Regions from separate parts of the Homo sapiens genome. Here all the other regions are linked to region 1. The links are contacts of gene promoters, found by promoter capture Hi-C in blood cells and fetal thymus (Javierre and others, 2016). All regions are on one chromosome and are shown on one strand. Each heading gives the region's core, a stretch centred on a gene start or on the middle of the fragment in contact. The rest is flanking DNA. Distances are from core to core; before and after follow the strand shown. Region 1 holds the start of DYRK1B (dual specificity tyrosine phosphorylation regulated kinase 1B). Region 2 holds the start of ZNF780A (zinc finger protein 780A). Region 3 holds the start of CCNP (cyclin P).

What was found. Contacts are between HindIII fragments. The CHiCAGO score rates a contact against its expected background, and 5 or more counts as called.
Region 2: a contact is called between the fragment with the promoter of ZNF780A here and the fragment with the promoter of DYRK1B in region 1, in 1 of 17 cell types (fetal thymus). The highest score is 5.2, in fetal thymus.
Region 3: the fragment with the promoter of CCNP here is called in contact with the fragment with the promoter of DYRK1B in region 1 in 14 of 17 cell types (neutrophils, erythroblasts, M2 macrophages and 11 more); the score reaches 22.0 in neutrophils.

Annotation. Positions count from the first base shown.
Region 1 is chr19:39,832,849-39,835,930 of GRCh38, forward strand. It overlaps DYRK1B (dual specificity tyrosine phosphorylation regulated kinase 1B), which reads right to left and starts at 1,314. Exons shown (of 11, transcript NM_004714.3): 1 at 1,175-1,314. FBL (fibrillarin) reads right to left here. Exons shown (of 9, transcript NM_001436.4): 8 at 1,820-1,965; 9 at 1,610-1,714. The coding sequence ends at 1,690. RefSeq lists silencers at 487-756, 1,017-1,126. The HindIII fragment of the contact is 24,958 bases long and covers 1-3,082 here.
Region 2 is chr19:40,089,472-40,092,475 of GRCh38, forward strand. ZNF780A (zinc finger protein 780A) reads right to left here and starts at 1,472. Exons shown (of 6, transcript NM_001142578.2): 1 at 1,435-1,472; 2 at 695-764. RefSeq lists an enhancer at 1,205-1,746 and a silencer at 1,294-1,623. The HindIII fragment of the contact is 842 bases long and covers 1,027-1,868 here.
Region 3 is chr19:40,225,366-40,228,495 of GRCh38, forward strand. It overlaps CCNP (cyclin P), which reads right to left and starts at 1,324. Exons shown (of 5, transcript NM_024877.4): 1 at 1,010-1,324. The coding sequence starts at 1,276. RefSeq lists a silencer at 1,012-1,131 and an enhancer at 1,158-1,711. The HindIII fragment of the contact is 9,498 bases long and covers 1-2,900 here.

The sequences.
Region 1 (3,082 bases), core at 64-2,563:
CTCCTGATGGGAGAAGGAGGAGGTGTCTCTTCCCACAGTTTAGAGTGATCATCCTTTTCTCCCCTACACTGCTTCCTTGCCCCCCTACACACACACACACACCCTAATATTCCTACCACAGACCTTTCTCCAGGCACCCCTCTTTATACCAGGGTCATTCCACAACTGTGTCCACTCCTAGAGGGCCTCAAAGTCAAATCCCCAAGTTATCACATAGGGTTCTCTCCTCCCAGAGTTGTCAGCTACAGCAAAAATCTTCTCCCCATGGGCCACTCTCTCCCCCATGTCAAATCCCTTTCTCCTATTCCATGCCTTGCCACTCCACGACTCCTCCACCCTTGGAGCTTCCCCCAAAAAACCACCTCTTCTCCGGGGCCCTCCCACACCAGGATCATCTCTCCCAGCCCCCACCCCCTACCCGGGTCAGGGCTGGCGCGGGGCCCACGGGGGGCTGGGGCGCGGTGGGGCCCCCAGTGGGGTGGGCGAGCGGCCAGCATGGCGGCGGTGGCGGCGCTGAAAAGGCGACCGCCTGTCTCTGGCCCGGCCGGCCCCGCGGCGGGGAGGGCAAGCGGGACAGGAGGCCCGGTGGGTGACAACAGCAGCCGCCACTGCCACCGGGGGCGGGGAGAGGAGGGGACAAGGGTCAGCCCAGGGCACGCGGGGGAAGAGTAGAGCAGGTGGACGGGGGAGGGGCGACACGCCCCACCCTGAGTGACCACCAGCCCCTAGGGACCCGGCGTCCCGCCCCCCACCCAGGAGGCCCTCCTGGGCCTGCTGAGACCGGAAGGCGGGGCCCGACTGAGCTTGGCAATCGGCACCTGCCATGGCAACAACTGTACCATTGGTCGCTGGTGCCAAGAGCTCAGCCAATCACAGCCTAGGGCAGCTGTTGCTAGGCGACGAAGAAGCGGCCCGCGGAGCTGAGCCCAAACAAAGGGCGGGAGTGGGGCCCGGCTACCCCCTCCCAGCCTCCCTCCTGCAACTGCTTCCTCGGGCTTGGCCGGTTCCAGGAATTCAACTATGAATAGCCAGGCAGGGCCCGCACCTGCCTGCCACCCCCCTCCTCTCCTCCCTTGGCCTCGTGCTAAGTCTCACGGCGACGGGAGCAGGGCGGATCCCGTCCTGCCCACCTCCCTGCGACCGCTTGCCGCCCCACCCGTCCCCGCGCCGTTACCTGAAGGAGCGGGCAAGGGGACTCAAACTGCTCGGGGAGCCCGAGCTCAGACCTGCCCACTGGCTGAGGGTATCCGGCGGACGCGGCAAGCCAGGGCCCCGATTACCCAGTAATGCAACCAGCAAAATGGCGACCACAACAAACCGGCCCCCCCACGCCCTGGACTCCGCCCCCATCCCTCCCTCTCCGCTCCCCTCACGTGACCCACACTGACACTCCGCCTGCGCGAGATGGCCGCTTACCTGCACGCATGCGCAGCGAGCTACCAATCCCACCCAAGAACCGAAATCCAGGCTGCCGCTGCGCAAAGGCAGCTAGAAACGGAGCATGCGCTCTGTGACCGAGTGAGAATTTACCCAACCCCGCAAAATTGACCAAGGGTGCGTGCTCCCTGTGTCAGCAGGTCAAGGGGAGGAATGAGCAGCAGACATGGGAGACGGATGAGTCTTTTAATAGAAAAACACACGTGCAACAGTATCAACACACATCTCTCGCAATCCTGACAGCGCTGAACTTCAGTTCTTCACCTTGGGGGGTGGCCTGTGAGAGGAAGATAGGTGATGAAGGAGGGTCCCCAGGATCATGGCACTCGGGGTGCAAGGGACAGAGATGTCTGTCTTGGTGTATTGCTGGGCCCCTGCTCACCTGTACACTCCCACGACCACGGCATGGTCTCTTTCATATGGCTCAAGGGTCAACTGCTCCTGCGGCTTCATGTTCTCCTGTTGCATCTTTTTCACTTCGGAGGCAAACACGGCCTCGGCTGAGGCTGTGGAGTCAATGCAGTTGGCCTAAAGAGGAGAAAGGACTAATGTCTACAACAGGGCTTTGGGCTGTTTTTCTCTTGTGTGCTCTTTAAACCAGATGTTTTCATTATTAATTCAAGTAAAACTCAGTGCTATGGTTCTAGTGTGTCCCCCAAAGTTCATGTGTTGGAAACGTAACCCTTAAATGCAAGAGTTGAGAGGTGGGACCTTCGAGAGATGATTCAGGTCATGAGGCCTCTGCCTTCCTGAATAGAGTAATGCTATTATCACAAGAGTGGGTTGCTGATTAAAAGGATGATTATGCCCCCTTTCTATCTTGCTCTCACCCTTCTGCCAATGGATGACAGCAAGAAGGCCCTCGCCAGATTCAGACCTCCAATCTTGGACTTTCCAGCCTTTGGAACTGGGAGCCAAATAAATTTCCATTCATTATAAATTACCCAGTCTAAGGCTGGGCGTGGTGGCTCACGCCTGTAATCCCAGCACTTTGGGAGGCCGAGGTGGCTCAATCACGAAATCAGGAGATTGAGACCATCCTGGCCAACACGGTGAAACCCTATCTCTACTAAAAATACAAAAATTAGTCGGGTGTGGTGGCGCACACCTGTAGTCCCACCTACTCGGGAAGCTGACGCAGGAGAATCGCTTGAACCCAGGAACTGGAGGTTGCAGTGAGCCGAGATCGTACCACTGCACTCCAACCTGGTGACAGAGTAAGACTCCATCTCAAAAAAATAAAAATAAAAATAAAAATAAATAAATTACCCAGTCTATAGCATTCTGTGATAGCTGCATAAAATGGGCTAAGACACTCGGGTTTAGGAAATGTGATAAAAGGCTTAATGAAAGTTTTTGGCTGGGTGCAGTGGCTCGTGCCTGTAATCCTAGCACTTTGGGAGCCTGAGACAGGCAGATTGCCTGAGCTCAGGAGCTCCAGAGCAGCCTGAGCAACATGGCAAAACCCCGTCTCCACTAAAAATATAAAAGTTAGCCAGGTGTGGTGGCACACGCCTGTAGTCCCAGCTACTTAGGAGGCTGAGGCAGAAGAATTGCTTGAACCTGGGAGGCAGAGGTTGCAGTGAGCTGAGATTGCACCACTTCACGCCAGCCTTGGTGACAGAGCGAGACTCTGTCTCAAATT
Region 2 (3,004 bases), core at 222-2,721, 260 kb after region 1:
CATATTAAACATTATTATATGCCTAGCACTGCTCTAAGGGGCTTTACGATATTAATTCATTCTAATGACAGAACCAATATTCCAACCCAGATACTCTGGATCCACTCCCCTATTCTTAACCACAACAGTGTACTGCCTCTCACAGTACACACACACACACACACACACACACTCACACACACACGCCTAAAACACAACTGGAGCTGCCAAACCTCAGAGAGATCTGGCAAGTATTACAAATATCATCTCATGGACTCCCTGGAAAAATCCTGGCTCTTGTTGATACCAATTTCTGTGCGGTCACTTTTCCACTACCGAATGCCTCACAGGCAATGGAGATCATCCAACCATCTCCATTCTTCCCTGTTTTGAAAAGGAGGTCTGTAAAGACCAACTGATGTCTAGTGTGTGATTCCACCTAAACACTAATCTCCTCCTTCCCAAATATGGGTCTAAAATGGAGCTTTAATATTAACTACTGGAGGTGTATTTCTATACCAGCTTCGAAAAAGAGAGCGCACAGGAAGGTGTGAACGATTTGCCAAATTGTTTTGTGACTATTAAGTGGAAAGGTGAAGGAGGGGGCACGAATCAATTTGCATATCCCCCTAGTTTCACTGAAAATTTAAGGGGAAATCTCAATATTCTAAAATCAAAAACGCATGTCTTGAACAAATACAAAGCACAAACTCACCCTTGACTTTAGGTGTGCAGCAGTAACGCTCTCATCCTCCTCCAGGTCCTTCTTTTGGATAAAAATACGACTGGAGAAGGATACGGCAAGCGTGAGACTCCAGGCATTTCTTGGAGCGCAGACTAAGTTTGAAAACACCCTCCCTCCATAGCCACAATTTCCCTCACTTCACACGAAATAGGAAGGAAGTAAAAGGAAGAGGAATCGATTCAACCAGTACAACCAGTTTGGAGCTGGTTTCTGGGGACAGAGCTCTGAGGACGCTGTGGTTCTCAACATGTAGCTGCCCCCCTGGGGAACACTCGGGGGCACTTCTGCGCTTTCTTGTGTAAAGCTTCATTCTCGGCTCAATATCTGACCTCCCTACTGGGGCCATTCCTCTGCTGCAGTCCCCGCAGCTGTGAAGCGGAAAGAGGGAGGAAGCAGCAGGAGCCTAGGGGCACCGGCACAGTGTCACTCAGCAAAGTGCGCTGCGTCCACACGCCCTCCCGGGCCTGTGCATAGAACCTCACGCACACACTCACAGTCCCCTCCGTCACTCATGATCTCACAATCCCCCTCCTCTGATACCCGCGCACACACACGCCTGGGGATCCGGCAGATCCCGTCTGCACCCCCGGGTTCCTACTCTGAGCGCCTCCCCCTAGGCCACCCGCACTGTCGGGTCAGTCAGGCTGGAGCCCCAATCCGCAGAGATCTCCCGCAGCCACAGATCTCTTCCTCAGACGTGAAGACCTTACCCCGCTATGTCGTCGACCCCGGAGACCGGAAGTGGACTGGCGCGGTGGCCGCTGGGAAATACAGTCCCGAACAGAAAAAGCCTCAGAAGCCTTGAGCTGTGATCCGTTCAGGTTGATCCCAGCATACTATGGGGGCTGACCCCTAAGGGAGCCGAGCCTAGTGGATTCGTGGGAGTTCCAGCCCGCGGGGTGCACAGGTTGTTGCCATGAGCAAGGATCCCCATGTGAGAAGAGCGTTTCCCTCTCGGAGCGTCAGTATAATTTACTTTTTCTCTCCATGGAGAATGCAAATGAGCAGAACTTTTAAAGAAGAAAGAAGAATTTAAAGTAAAATTATGTCAACATGTAGGTGCTTTAACTCCTTTGTCTCAGACCCCAGCGATAGGCTTCCACTTCTCTGTGCTATTTGAAGGGGACTTAGGATAAATTTGAAAAGCTTGAACTAAAGAATTGGTTGGTTATATACTAGGAGAGGAAGTGTGGTTCACATTGGAGATTTCAGAATCAAATGTCCTGGATTCTTCGAGACAATGTTCCTGTTATCTGGAGAGAAAAACGTGATTCAGGACGACATGGAAACGGATAAAAATACACAGATAATTACTTGCCTTATCTTGAAGGATGAATAATTAACACTTTGTTAAAATAGTATAAACAAATGCAAAAAAGGGCTTGCTTTTCCTAGGAAGAGCCTGATTTCACTGTTGTAGTCTAACAATATTTAACTTTCAAAATCATTTTTCTAGTTTCCTATGCTACATAAGGAGGAAACATGTAATAATAAAGAGCAAAACGTCTTTTCATTCCAGAATTGTGACAGAAAACAAATAAGATGATTAACTCAACCATATCAATAATCACATTAAATGTAAATGGTCTAAACACCTTAATTTAAAAAGATTGTCAGATTGGATTTTTTAAAAAGTCAGACCCAAATGTGCATCAATGATAGACTGGATTAAGAAAATGTGGCACATATACACCATGGAATACTATGCAGCCATAAAAAGGATGAGTTCATGTCGTTTGTAGGGACATGGATGAAGCTGGAAACCATCATTCTGAGCAAACTATCGCAAGGACAGAAAACCAAACACCAAATGTTCTCAGTCATAGGTGAGAATTGAACAATGAGAACACTTGGACACAGGGTGGAGAACATCACACACCGGGGCCTATAGTGGGGTCGGGGGAGGGGGAAGGGATAGCATTAGAAGATATACCTAATGTAAATGACGAGTTAATGGGTGCAGCACACCAACATGGCACATGTATACATATGTAACAAACCTGCACTTTGTGCACATGTACCCTAGAACTTAAAGTATAATAAAAAAAGATAATTAAATAAATAAATAAACAAAAAGTCAGACCCAAATGGGTGCTACCTACAGGTAATATGTTAAATGAAAAGCACTAAAAGGTTAAGAGTAAAAGGATGGAAAAATATACACCATCCTAACACTAGTCAAAAGAAAGCTGGAGTGGCTTTATTAAAAACAAAGTAGACTCCGGACATAGACTATTACCAGAGATAAAGAAGGGCATAATAATGATAAAGGAGATAGCT
Region 3 (3,130 bases), core at 74-2,573, 390 kb after region 1:
TCAACTCTTGACCACGAATCCTCAACCCCTCTGCCTCAGAGCACCCAGAAGCATCTTCCCAAAGAAAGATCTGACCAAGGAACTCCCCAGCTTAAAACCCTTCCATGGCTCCCAGTACCCTTGGAGAAAACTCTGATTTCTTTCAGGCTCTGCTCCAGCATCACCTCTTCCCTCTCTCTCCCCACAACCCATGCGTCAGCCACAGCTGCCTTCTTTTTAGCTCCTAGACTATACCAAGCCCATTCCTACCCCAGGCCCTTTGCACTTCCTGTTTCCTCTACAGAGAGGGTCCTTCCCCAGCCCCTTACTCGACCTTTCCGTCATTCAGCTAACATCTCCATGACTTTGTCTATACTCCTACCACCCGATCACTATCTCTTTGTCTCAGCATTTTCACTGTGAAGATGTCTCCCTGTGTGCTTTGTCTATTTGGCCGCTAGGCTGCCAGTCCCACGAGGGCAGGGACTTCTGCCCACAACACAAGTGTCTCTCAGGTCCTAACAGAGATCCTGGCCCAGGAGAGTCGCAGGCAAGACGTTCAACAAACTCCTCCCTTCAGTCTTCCTTCCGCAGCAACCCTCTCATAGGGATATCTGAAGGCTGGCGAGGCCAATGTTTTGGTTTGCGTGGCCTTTCCCTAGTTGTTCTATGTGTTTGCTCATCTCCCCAGAACGAGGCCAGCATTGCAGCATCTCCAGCACCTAAAACATTTGCTACTAAACCATTAAATATTTGTTAAACAAATAAATGTGGAGGACAAGTACAGGGGACCATAAACACCCCAGGAGGGACTGCAAAGAGCCCGGGGACGGTGGGAAAGGGCATTCCCAGCGGTAGAAACGGCGCTGTGTGAAAACAAAACAAAAGCCTGGACGTTGCAGGGAAGGAACGCCGGCTGCCAGTGATAGGGAGGAGAGGCTGGAGCGGTGGGAGTTCAGAGTGGTGTTGAGTGGGTGCCGGGCGGTGGGCCGGCGTCGCCCTCACCAGGGCAGGCGGCGGGTAGGCTCACCATGACTTCGGCGAAGATGTCCCCGGCGTACTCGCGTTCTCCCTGCAGCCCCAGCGCGCTCAGCGCCTCCTCCAGCCCCGGCGGCCTCGCCAGGCGTCTTGGGGAGACAGTGGGGCCCGCGGGGAAGCCGTCGGGGACTGCGGCGCTTGAAGGCTCTGCGTCGAGGGAGGCAGCGAGACTCTGCAAAGGAGAGGGCCTGGGGGCCCAGCGCCTAACGATAGGCCCGAGCCGGGAGCCGGACCCCTGGTCCCTGCCTCTCACCAGCATCCTCCAGGAGGGTGTTGCGGGCGAGGCCAAGCACCGACCCTTGCAGCTAGGGGAAGAGACGCGCGGCGGGCGCTTTAAAGGCCCCTGGGCGCGTGCGCACTGAGCCCGCCTCGCCCGGGCAGGTGCACAAAGGTGAGTGCCCCGCAGGCTGGCTCTGTCCTCTCGAAGCCCTCTAAGGTCGGACAGCTGGAGACAGATCCTCATCCTGCTGCCCGGAAGCAGCCCCTCTGGGCCTCGCTTTCCTGACCATAAAGTCGGGATGATTTCAAAATGTAGAATCAGGGTTTGCACCGTCAGAGGATGGATGTACAAACATAGATCGGAGGTTAGAATGACCCTTGTGGTGTCGGTGTCGCAATGGAATTGGAGATAAAATTGTGTGAACACATGGTTGTTTACATAGAAGTTAAGTGTTGTGTGGCCGGGTGTGGTGGCTCACTCCTGTAATCCCAGCACTTTGGGAGGCCGAGGCGGGCGGATCACGAGGTCAGGAGATGGAGACCATCCTGGCTAACACTGTGAAACCCCATCTCCACTAAAAATACAAAAAGTTAGCTGGGCGTGGTGCCGGGAGCCTGTAGTCCCAGCTACTCAGGAGGCTGAGGCAGGAGAATGGCATGAACCCTGGAGGCGGAACTTGCAGTGAGCGAGATTGGGCCACTGTACTCCAGCTTGGGCGACAGAGCGAGACTCCGTCTCAAAAAAAAAAAAATTTTTTTTAAAAAGTGGTGTGTATGCAAACATGTATTTCCTAGCTTAATCCACTGGGAGAGCTTAAGAGCAGCGACACCCCAATAGTGAGAAGCACCCCTAACATCCAAACCCTGGCCGCCACATCCCATTCTCCACTAAAAGGAACCAGGGCTACCTGGAGAAATGGCTGATCCCAGGGTCATACAAGAGAAGGTACAAGATCTGGAATATTTTTGTGTGGCAGAAAGTGTCCCAACAGCAGGGCAAGTCACATAGATGCAGAAGTCACTAGCTAAATCTAGAAAATGTGAGCATCAAGATGATAGTCATAGATCACAAACCACTGAATAAAATTAAAATACAAGTTTATTCTGATATAACTCAGGCAGTGGGAAAGAAAAGCTCTTCTAATCTTTAGAAAGTGAACTAATAAATGTGTTTTGTTTTCAGACAGGGTCTCGCTCTGTCACCCAGGCTGGAGTGCAGTGGTGTGAACACGGCTCACTGCAGCCTCAACCTCCTAGGCTCAAGTGATCCTCCCATCTCAGCCTCCCAAGTAGCTAGGACTACAGGTGTGCGCCATCATGCTTGGCTAATTTTTAAATTTTTCTGTAGAGACTGGGGTATCACTTTGTTGCCTAGGCTGGTTTTGAACTCCTGGGTTCAAGGAATCCTCCCACCTTGGCTTCCCAAAGTGCTAGGATTACAGGTGTGGGCCGCCATGACTGGCCGAACTAATAATGTAGAAGGTTGGAAAATCCTATTTGGCAACCACCACAGCATCGTTTCATGCAAGAAATATCAATAGATGTTCAAACTAGTGGGTGAACATCTGATAGGAATCGGGATATCTACAAAATGTCTCTACACAAGATGTTTATTAACTGTGTAAACCAAAAGGTATCTGAGATAGGTGTCAATCAATTTAGAAAGCTTATTTTGCCAAAGTTAAGGGTGTGCGTGTGACACGGCCTCAGGAGGTATTCGGGGCACAGCTTGGTTTTATACGTTTTATGGAGACATGAGACGTCCTCAATATGTGTAAGCTGTACATTGGTTCGGTCCGGAAAGGCAAGACAACTCGAAGCAGGGGAGGGGGCTTCCAGGTCATAGACAGGAGACAAACGGCTGCATTCTTTTGAGTTTGATTAGCCTTTTACT